Regions from separate parts of the Homo sapiens genome. Here regions 1, 3 and 4 are each linked to region 2. Evidence: promoter capture Hi-C in 16 types of primary human blood cells and fetal thymus (Javierre and others, 2016). All regions are on one chromosome and are shown on one strand. Each heading gives the region's core, a stretch centred on a gene start or on the middle of the fragment in contact. The rest is flanking DNA. Distances are from core to core; before and after follow the strand shown.

Region 1 (2,873 bases), core at 353-2,852, 320 kb after region 2:
CCCACCCTCCTGCTGGAAACATCTACAAGGCCCTTTCCCCATCCTTCCAGCCCTGCTGACTTGCTTCTTGGGTGACTCCATGGTTTTTTGCCTCAGTCTAATTATGCTCAACAGTGGCACACGTCAGTAAAAACCCCATCTGGCTCTCACATCACAAAAGACTGTATACGCCTTGAAACTTAATCTGTGCTGAGCTGAGCACATGCTGCTAAATCACAGGCCCCCGAAGAGTCAAGGTGACATGGCAGGCAGAGGGAAGACCAGCCGTCAGAACCCTCAGCACCACGGGGCTACATTTCACCTTTAGTTGGGAGGAAACTGAAGGCATGCTTTCTGGTTTATCTGGATGTTCAGAGGAAATGAGGGAGGTCTGGAAACACACATTGAGACCAACCCTGTGCCAGGCACTGTGTAAGAAGCACTTCCCCCGGAAGGCATTATTGCCCAGCAATTTACACTTCATTTCTGTTTGATTTAGTTGATGACCCTGTGAAATAGACCACAAGTCACAGATTCACTGTCTAAGAATCTGCAGGCCTTGTAAGCCCCCAAAATGCTTCATGGGACAATGTTAGTCACATGTCGAACTGGCGCTCCCAACTTCAGAACCTCCCTGTGCCTTTCCTGACCTCATAAAAGATTTCCAGGGGAGAGAAAACCCCAGGCAGGACAAGAAGTTTGTGGAAGCCTGGATTCCAGAATAGAGATAAATCTGATGTCAAAAAAGGTGTTTTAAATTTTTTTCAGTGAGCAGGTGGGTAGGTGGGTACAGACATGCCCTTACTTTCTGAGTAAATGCTTTTTGAGAATCTGTGATGCCTGATTCCTGAGCTGAACATTAGAGAAACAGTGCTGGTCTACATAAGGGGAAATATATTTCTAAAAGTGTGGAATCGTTCTCATTTATAAAATGCTTATATTTGATAGTTCAGGATTTTTGCTTTTTAGGGTTTCACTAAAATTTAAGGTTACCAAGGATTAGAATTCTAGTTAGCACATAATTCTATATTCAAAATGTGCCAAAAGATGTGTTATTAGTGAGAGAAAAAATAATTTTGTGTAATTTAGAAGTTATCTGAAAGTTAATTCAAATTATGGACTTTATTTTATTTTATTTATTTATTTATTTTTTTTAAAATTATTATTATACTTTAAGTTTTAGGGTACATGTGCACAATGCGCCGGTTAGTTACATATGTATACATGTGCCATGCTGGTGTGCTGCACCCATTAACTCGTCATTTAGCATTAGGTACATCTCTTAATGCTATCTCTCCCCCCTCCCCCCACCCCACAACAGTCCCCAGAGTGTGATGTTCCCCTTCCCGTGTCCATGTGTTCTCATTGTTCAATTCCCATCTATGAATGAGAACATGCGGTGTTTGGCTTTTAGTCCTTGCGATAGTTTACTGAGAATGATGATTTCCAATTTCATCCATGTCCCTACAAAGGACATGAACTCATCATTTTTTATGGCTGCATAGTATTCCATGGTGTATATGTGCCACATTTTCTTAATCCAGTCTATCAATCATTGTTGGACATTTGGGTTGGTTCCAAGTCTTTGCTATTGTGAATAGTGCCGCAATAAACATACATGTGCATGTGTCTTTATAGCAGCATGATTTATAGTCCTCTGGGTATATACCCAGTAATGGGATGGCTGGGTCAAATGGTATTTCTAGTTCTAGATCCCTGAGGAATCGCCACACTGACTTCCACAATGGTTGAACTAGTTTACAGTCCCACCAACAGTGTAAAAGTGTTCCTATTTCTCCACATCCTCTCCAGCACCTGTTGTTTCCTGACTTTTTAATGATTGCCATTCTAACTGGTGTGAGATGGTATCTCATTGTGGTTTTGATTTGCATTTCTCCGATGGCCAGTGATGATGAGCATTTTTTCATGTGTCTTTTGGCTGCAAATTATGGACTTTAAAAAGGGGTTATTTATTAAAAAAGGTAGGAAGGAACCAGTAAATAGGGGAGAGAGATGTGAAGAACATTATGTGTATGAAGATGTGTTTTTGGTAGGAAAGGTTGTAGAGACAATAACTTTGTATGAGAAAGGATCTTGTATGGTAAATGCTTGTCCTAAAGTAAAATGCCTGGTTGTTTAAAACAAGGGATGTTTAGGACAAGTCAGAGAGTCCAAGCATGTCATAGATGGTCTGTGTAAGTCATGAAGAGGACTTGTGTAGGAAAAGTAGAATATACATTTGATAAAAGTCATGAGAATGTGGATTTTTGCCTAAGTTTTGTTAAAGGATTGTTTTAAGTGAGATAGGAAAAATCTAGAGGCTTGAACAAGTTGTGTAAGGTTTATTAAAAATTAATTATAAAAGAGATTCTGTGTGTGAACATATTGGCTAAAGTTAAAAAGGAAAACTGGTAATTATACTTCACCCATATGCTAGCTTGCAAAGGATACAAGTTTTTGCTAGTACTAGTAGACACCTTTATTATTTATTGGCTGGGTTGAAACTTACCTTACCGGAACAGAGAAGGCTAATGAAGTTATAAAGATTCTCTTAAAGGAAATAATCCCTCAGTATGGGGTACCCTAAAGCTGCCAAAGTGATAACAGCCTGTCTTTTGTCTCCTAGAAAGCTCAAGGGGTTGCTAAGGCTCTCGGAATCAAATACCATTTACATTCATCATGGAGACCTCAATCCTCCAGAAAAGTGGAAAGAGCTAATCAAACTCTAAAACAGGTTTTAGCTAAGCTATGTCAGGAAACATCACAAACTTGGGTCAGCTTATCTGCCCATAGCCCTCTTAAGGATCCATAGTTCCCCTAGAGCAAAAATTAATATGAACCTACATGAAATGTTATATGGAAGGCCATATTAAACTAATGATTTATTACTGATC
Region 2 (2,743 bases), core at 119-2,618:
CATATACACATTTTCTTTATCCACTAGTTGATTGATGGGCATTTGGGTTGGTTCCACGATTTTGCAATTGTGAATTTTGCTGCTATAAACGTGCATGTGCAAGTATCTTTTTCGAATAATGACTTCTTTTCCTCTGGGAAGATACCCAGTAGTGGGATTGCTGGATCAAATGGTAGTTCTACTTTTGTTCTTTAAGGAATCTCCACACTGTTTTCCATAGCAGCTGTACTATGTTATATTCCCCCCAGCAGTGTAGAAGTGTTCCCTGATTGTCACATCCACACCAACGTCTACTGTTTTTTGATTTTTTGATTATGGTCATTCTTGCAGGAGTAAGGTGGTATCGCACTGCGGTTTTGATTTGCGTTTTGCTGATCATTGGTGATGTTGAGCATTTTTTCATATGCTTGTTGACCATTTGTATATCTTCTTTTGAGAATTGTCTATTCATGTCCTTATCCCACTTTTTGATGGGATTGTTTTTTTCTTACTGATTTGTTGGAGTTCATTGTGGATTCTGGATATTAATCCTTTGTCAGATGTATAGATTGTGAAGATTTTCTCCCACTCTGTGGGTTGTCTGTTTACTCTGCTGACTGTTCCTTTTGCAGTGCAAAAGCTCTTTAGTTTAATTAGGTCCCAGCTATTTATCTTTGATTTTATTGCATTTGCTTTTTGGTTCTTGGTCATGAAATCCTTGCCTAAGCCAATATCTAGAACAAGCAAAGAAAGTTTACCTTTTATTTTATCTGTTTACTACTTTAAACAAGGTAATGTGATAAAAAGGTCATGTTAAGGTAATCAGGGTTAATGTATCACAGATTGTGTTTTAAAACTTGCTTACTGCAACCTTAAGTATTGGTATAATATAATCTCAAATTGTCTCTTTCAGAATTCTCATGCAAAGACTCCCGGGTTGCCACAGAGATCCCTGTCCATAGGGAGGCTCTTTCCCATCTCTCCTCCCTCCCACTTTAATTCCAAACTCAAAAAGGCAGATTAATCTAAGCTTAAAAAAGGTTTTAGTAGAAATAATTTGAAAACCCCAGAGCCCTGGGATATTGTTGGAATAACGATTTTTAGTGCTTTGGAAAGTAAAAGTTGATTTTTCTTTTCTTTCATTCTTCCCCATCCCTTCCCCCTTAATAAAGTTATCATTCTTGTCATTTTCTAGTTTTTTTTGTTTGGTTCAAGAGGATAAGATTATAGAAAATAGTCACTAACATATCCTGCTATAGAAAGAGATGATTGGACCTTCTATTTGGAAACCAGAACAAACAAGGAAACAAAGAAACAAATAATTCTGCTTTCCGATAGGTGCTGGTTTTACTTCCGCTGGCTGAGCTGTTGTTCCTGAGGTCAGACCCCAGCCAGTCTTTTGTGTACGTGCAGGACCATGGTGGCTTTAGTTTCTACCCCACCCTTCCTAGGAACTCTACTTGTGGCAAACGTATGTTCAAGCTTACAAGTCAGCCCACCCCACTCTGATAAATGCAAGAAAAGCTGAAAAGGGAGGAGCAAGATGGGATGAAAGCATCTGGGCCAAAGTGACCTGAAAACCTTTAGAGAAGAAGCTGCTGGCTGAGAAGGAGGTGTGTGGCTCCGGTGAGACCACCAGCTTGGAGGACTGGTCATCAGCTGCACGTTCTGGGTCTGTCTTGGGTATTCCCATATGGCCATGAGATCCGGGAGGCACCCCTCGCTGCTGCTGCTTCTAGTGCTGCTGCTGTGGCTGCTGCAGGTAAGCTGAGCCTGCAGCCTAGTGCTCAGGTGCAGGGAACTGAAAGCAAAGCACAAGCTGGCCCTGCCCCTTCTAGGCTAAGGGAGGGGAGAGGGACTGAGTGTGACCTGCTGGGACCCAGGGCTGGCTGTCTTGAGAATGGCTTAGGTAGCAGGGGCTCTGGATTTATATAAAGGGAAGTTAAGGGTCCCAGTCTGTTTGGGGCAACAGTGGGAGCAGGCTAAGGGACCTGTTTAAAACTAATTTATATAGTTCACACTATTTTTAGTGAGATTACATCAACACACACGTGTTTTCTTTCTTTGTTTCTTTCTCCTTTTGTTGAGACAGGGTCTGGCTTCATCATCCAGGCTGGAGTGCAGTGGCATGATCAAGGCTCACTGCAGCTTTAACCTCCCAGGCTCAGGTGATCCTTCCACCTCAGCCTCAAGAGTAGCTGGGACTACAGTAACTTACCACCACGCTGGCTAATTTCTGTATTTTTTATAGAGATGGATTTTCACCATGTTGCCCAGGCTGGTCTCGAACTCCTAAGCTCAAGTGATTTATTCGCCTTGCCCTTCCGAAGTGTTGGGTTTACAGGCATGAGCCACCTCACCCAGCCAACACACACAATTTTTTTTTTTTTTTGAGACAGGGTCTCGTCATCCAGGCTACAGTGCGTGGTGACATCTCAGTGCACCGCAACCTCCTCCTACTGGGTTCAAGCAACCTCCTGGCTCAGCCTCCCGAGTACTGGGACTACAGGTGCACGCCACCATGCCCGGCTAGTTTTTGTATTTTTATTAGAGACAGGGTTTCACCATGTTGGCCAGGCTGGTCTCAAACTCCTGACCTCAAGTGATCTGCCTGCCTCAGCCTCCCAAAGTGTTAGGATGACAGGCTTGAGACACTGCGCCCTGCCAAGTTTTATAATGATACTTCTGTTCACACTTTACATAAGATTGAGGAAATCTCAGTTGTCTGGATCCAAGGCAATTTGAGCAAACCCATGGGGATGGA
Region 3 (2,700 bases), core at 62-2,561, 260 kb after region 2:
CATAGTTTGCAAATATTTTCTCACATGCATAGGCTGTCTCTCCATTCTGTTGATCGTTTCTTTTGTTGTACAGAGCTTTTTAGTTGGATGTAATCCCATTTGCCTGCCTTTGGTTTTGTTTCCTGTGCTGTGAGCTCTAATCCAAAAAAATCCTTGCTCAGGCCAATGTCATCAAGCATTTCGTGGATGTTTTCTTCTAGTAGTCTATGGTTTTGGGTCTTACAACACCTAAATCTTTAATCCATTTTGGGTGATTTTTGTATAGGGTGACAGATAGGGGTCCAATTTCATGCTGCATGTGACTAGCCAGTTTTTCTGGTACCGTGTATTAAAGAGACTGTTCTTTCCCCAGTGGGTGTTCTCAGTACCTTTTTGAAAGGCCACTTAGCTCTGAGCGCATGGAGTTATTTCTGTGTTCTCTGCCCTGTTCCACCGGTGTATGTGTGTGTTTTTACTCCTCGGTCTTCAAGATTGTTGAGAGTTTGGAGCCTGGGTGCACCAGCTTCTTTGTATCTCACTGTCTTCCTCCCCAAACCCAGTGCCCAGCATATAGCCTGGCATGCATGAAAGGCTCAGCCAATTGTTTGGGTTTGATATACATGTTAATATTGGGAGATTGCTGCATACACTTAAGTGCCGATGTTTCAAGCTGGGGAGGCAGAAGTCTGGGGAAAACAACAGGTTGGAACTTCATTGCGACTCGGAACATGTCTGGCTGGCATATGAATCCATCTGCCATGACGGCTTGGATAAAAATAGTCCACATTGGAGGCTTCATTCTATTTGAATGTACAGATTAACCAGTACTATGACAACTATTTTCAGAAAGCAGCTTGCTGAAACTTTGTAATGATGTGTTTAGGCTTCACAGCTTCAAAACATGATCTTCTAGGTGAAAGATGGTAAATAGCTTCAAAGAAAGGTATTCCCCTCCCTTTCCTGCCCTTGGAAAACATAACTATATGATGAATAAAAATGACTCTGGACCTGTCCATACCACCCATGAAATGTTCCACTTCTTGAGTATTTTATGTAACCGTGTCAGCCTGGCACAGTGCATTAACACCAAGAGTTTCTTGTGATGTTTTCTGGCTGATAATATTTTCCTTACAAGTTCCCTATGAAATCTAAAGCAATAACAACAAAACAGGGCACTTCTACGCTCTTAAAAATGTCATTGTCCTATTTTTTAATTAGGCAGGATGTCCCTGATTTCCCAGGGGAGTCGATGGGACGCAGTGTTTTACAGCTTATCATTTGGACACCTTAAGTCTGAAGATTGGGTCCAGGTAACAGGGCCAACAAGAAACTCCTGCACCAGGGAGGTCAGGGACACAGGCCAGGAACGCTGGCTCAGGCATGGTGGCTGCAGCTCCTTGGTCACAGGATCTTGGGCATCCATCTCTGGCCAGTTTCCCCATCAGTAAAACACGAATGCTGGACCAGATAAGGGTTTCCCAACTCAGCACTACTGACGACTTGGGAAGGATGACTCTTTGTTGAGAGGGGCTGTCCTGTGCCAATTAAGATGTTTAGCAACACTCCTAACCACTACTACCCACTAGATGCTAGTAGCAACCCCCAGTTGGGATAACCGAAAATGTCTTCAACATTGCCAAATGCCCCTGGAAGGAGAGGGAAAAATGACCTGCGGTTGATGACCTCCTCGCTGTGGCTGACGTGCTTTGGTGATGCATATGGAGGAGATGATTCAGAGTGTTCACACTGTGCGTTTCCACTTCTTATGGCTCCTAATTACTCCCAGTGGCTCTGGAGTGGCTCCCCACCCTATGTGCACGTTCCTTCTGAAAGCCTGGGACAAACTTTACAGTTTTATATGTTTACTCAACTTTACAGTTTTATATGTTTTGTTCACGTATAACTCACATGCAGAAAAGTGCACGTCAAAAGTTTACATCTCAACGACTTTTCACAAAGTGAGCAATCCATGTGGATGTAGCCAGCACCTAAGCCAAGCTGCAGGACGGGAGCCACGCCCTCTCCTTCTTCTCCTCTTCCCCCTAGTTAGCCACTATCCTGACTTTGGAACCGTAGATTAGTTTTGTCTGGTTTGTTGAACTTGATACAATGGAGTCATCCTGTATGTGCTATTTATGTGCCTGGCTTCTTTCACTGTACATTACGTTCGTGAGATTCATTCATGCTCTGTGCACTTGCAGCCCATTCACTCTCAGCGTGGATGGTATTCATTATCTGACTGTGCGGCCACTGAATCTTCCATGCCACTGGGGAGGGGCCTTCGGGGCATCTACAGGCTGGGGATTATAAATTGCACTGCTGAGAACATTTGTGTGCATGTCTTTTCATGAATATGTGAATGCATTTCTGTTGAGTATATACTGAAGAGTGGAGTTGACAGGTCACAGGGCATGTACATATTCAGTTTTAGGGGCTGCCAGATACTTCTGGAAATTAATAAGAAAAAGACTGAAAACCCTATAGAAAAATCAGTAAAAGAGTTGAACGGTCACATCGCGAAAGAAGATGCTCAGTTGTCCAATAAACATGGAATGGTGGTGCTTAACCACTTTAGTCATCTAGGAAATACACATCAAAACCAGGCCATACTACTGCATCTCCATCAGTGGCTATAAAGAAGGACAAGTTGAAAAGGACATGGAGCAACCAGAAGTTCTGTATGCTGATGGTGGGAGTGGAAATCAGTGCAACCACTTTGGA
Region 4 (2,779 bases), core at 4-2,503, 280 kb after region 2:
CCTGGGAGAAATGACTTTCTGTTGGTTATGAGCCACCCAGGCTATGGTGCAGCCTGGGTGGACAACGATGATTCTGCACTGCTCTGCCCTTCCTCTCTATCAATCCTCCCCACATCCTCTCTGCTCCAGACGTGCCTGGCCTCTCTGTCTTCCTCCAGGACTCCAGGCACACGCCACTCCGCCCCTGCATGACCACAAGGCCCCACCTCTCCCTTTCTTCTTGATTTTGTTTTAATACCAACTCATTGCCGAGGCTGTTGCTGGACATTTAACATGGTTTTACCCCACCTGGGGACTCTGTCTCTCCTGTGCGCAGTTGTATTTGATCCCCAGCCTTTGTTACCATACAGCGTGCTGGTGGTGCTTTGATTCAGTGGCGCTGTCTGTTTCCTGTGTGAGCAGGGGCTTTGCCTGCTTTGACAGCATCTTCAGCACCTGGAACAGTGCCTGGTGCACAGTGGGTGCTCACTAAATATTCAGAGGGTGAGTCTTACAGGAATGAACAAAAATATATTGGGAATTGGCCAGTAAGGGTTGCAAAGGCAAATGTGGTGAACTATGGCTCCGGCTTGCCTGGGACTGAGGCATTTCCAAGGATGCAGGACTTCAAATGTTAAACCCAGGAAAGTCTCAGGCAAACCAGGACAAGTGGGTCGCCCTAATGAGAACCCCCAAATGTCCTCAGAGAAATCAGGGTGCTGTAGCAATGACAGCGGGGTCTGGAGGGAAAGCCTGAGGGTGGTTGTCCCGTCTTGCATTTGGTCTGGACAGATCTAGGCTTCAATTCATAGCCACCTGCATCCTTGCCACGACTTAAGGCTGATCACACAGCCCAGCATCACAGTCTAACAATGAAGGATGTGGCAGGTTGTTGTCTTGGAGGAAGGACCTGATTTCCAATTTATCTGAGCTGCTTGGAGCCCATGCTGCTTTACAGCATTGTTCAGAACTGACGAGGACTCTGTCAACTCTCTTTTCTCTCTCTTCCTAAGCACTCTGCAGTGATATCTTCAAGCCCCTGGCTTCGCAGGGTGCAGCACACATCACAGACTCCTAACAAAATGCAAAACACAGAGCAGGCATGGCAGCTACACGAAAGGAGCGCCTCGTTCGAGGACTGCCCACCATGCGGGGCTGCAGTCACAGCACCGCCCCTGCTCTCTGAACCTGGCAGCAGCAAGAAAACATGACGTCCTGTCCTGGCTCACCTCTGATCAGAGTTGGGGGGATCTGACCGAGTCCTCTTGTTCTGTTGGGCAGAGACGTAGGGAACAAACCTAAGTAAACTTGAATGGAAACTGCGAAACTGCAGAGAGATGACATGTGCAAAGCAAGCCTCTTGAAGACTTGTGAGCAGGGAAGACCCTGGCACCTTTTTGAACTGCTTGGCTTAGGAAGATTTGCTTTGCCACAGCTTCTGTCAGAGCAGAGCAGGCTCCTGTATTGCCTGCTGGACCTGTGCCTTTTGGGCCGTGCAATTTGGTTCCACAATCCAGAGGCAGATTTTCAGACCATGCAATAAAACAAAGCGACATCATCAATGCCAAGCCCTGGTCTGCCCTGAGCCATGGCAGCGTTTCCGCTGAGCGAGCTGCCTTCCAAGGAGGATGCTCTCTGCTGTGCAGTGCTTACATCTGCTGTCACCAGCCGGCTCAGGGGTGACAACCAGTCACACTCCAGTGACTTCCTCCCATGTCCCTCCAAACATCTTTGGAGTGAAAGGGAGTCTCCAATTATATGCTTTCTTTTTCCTTTCCAAACCAAGACGATGTTCAGTAATTAATGGCATATTTTGAATATGCCAGGGAGATGTGCATTTTTCTCCAAGGAAGAGTGAAACAGCAGCACATGTAAATACAAACCTGAAGCCGGGGCTCCTTCCACACCAGCAGTCGGTAGACTTGCCATAAAGGAGTGGAGATTATTTTGCCCTGCTGAGAACGATCCTTTTTGTTCAAGGGGGAGAAAAGTTTTTGACAGTAGGTGCTGCTGCAGAGGCATCTCGGCAAGTCCTTTATTAAAATTTATTTCTCGTCTTTTATTAACGAGATTTGGTTCGGGGAGACTATCTTGTGGAATAATTAAACCCCTGCCTTTCAAGCCAGTTTTCAGCAGTGGGCTGGGATTTGGCGATGGGTGACTCAGCAGCAAAGAGGACAGGAAACAGTCAAGAGACAAACAGTGCAGATGTGTGCCGGGGTCCACATTTCCCCTGTGGGTGGTCCCTGCCCCAGCATCTCTACGTTGTCCCAGCTAAGAATATGGTCTTTGGAGTCCTACTAATGTGGATTTAAATCTGATCTCCACCCCTTCCTCCTGTGTGACCTTGAGAAAGCCTCAGTTTTTCCATCTGTAAAATGAAGAAATTGTTACGGGGGAATCAAATGAGATAATCCTTGCAGAATCCAGCACACAGCCACCTACACATGGTAAGTCTCAGCGCAGACATCCTTTCAAGTTGTGTTGCTGATAGATAAAGTCTCTCTGAGATCCGCCGATCTGCAGTCTTCTGAGGCCATGGCTTGACCATGCTGCCCTTCTACTGTAGAATGAATGTTTTCCTGCAGATCCAAGCTCTCACTATGTTTAATCAAATTTAACCCATAGAATATTCACAGCAACATTATTCATAATAATGCAAAAGTGGAAACAACCCAAACACACATGAACTGATGAATGGATAAACAAAATGTAGTATATCCGTACTTACTATATATGGGATATTATTATCTGGTGATAAAAAGGAATAAAGTCCTGATACCTACTACAACATGGGTGA

What was found. Contacts are between HindIII fragments. The CHiCAGO score rates a contact against its expected background, and 5 or more counts as called.
Region 1: a fragment that was not itself captured here is called in contact with the fragment with the promoter of CDH26 in region 2 in 1 of 17 cell types (neutrophils); the score reaches 6.6 in neutrophils.
Region 3: a contact is called between a fragment that was not itself captured here and the fragment with the promoter of CDH26 in region 2, in 1 of 17 cell types (monocytes). The highest score is 5.3, in monocytes.
Region 4: a fragment that was not itself captured here is called in contact with the fragment with the promoter of CDH26 in region 2 in 1 of 17 cell types (neutrophils); the score reaches 5.5 in neutrophils.

Annotation. Positions count from the first base shown.
Region 1 is chr20:60,281,336-60,284,208 of GRCh38, forward strand. All of the region lies in intron 3 of MIR646HG (MIR646 host gene), which reads left to right. The region is part of intron 1 of LOC105372698 (a long non-coding RNA gene); the gene reads left to right. Among named protein-coding and RNA genes, the nearest start is that of MIR646, 26 kb to the right of the region's middle. The HindIII fragment of the contact is 6,357 bases long and covers 1-2,873 here.
Region 2 is chr20:59,957,055-59,959,797 of GRCh38, forward strand. It overlaps CDH26 (cadherin 26), which reads left to right and starts at 1,369. Exons shown (of 18, transcript NM_177980.4): 1 at 1,369-1,741. The coding sequence starts at 1,673. The HindIII fragment of the contact is 452 bases long and covers 1,008-1,459 here.
Region 3 is chr20:60,218,724-60,221,423 of GRCh38, forward strand. The region is part of intron 3 of MIR646HG (MIR646 host gene); the gene reads left to right. Among named protein-coding and RNA genes, the nearest start is that of MIR646HG, 82 kb to the left of the region's middle. The HindIII fragment of the contact is 5,114 bases long and covers 1-2,700 here.
Region 4 is chr20:60,239,047-60,241,825 of GRCh38, forward strand. All of the region lies in intron 3 of MIR646HG (MIR646 host gene), which reads left to right. Among named protein-coding and RNA genes, the nearest start is that of MIR646, 68 kb to the right of the region's middle. The HindIII fragment of the contact is 5,944 bases long and covers 1-2,779 here.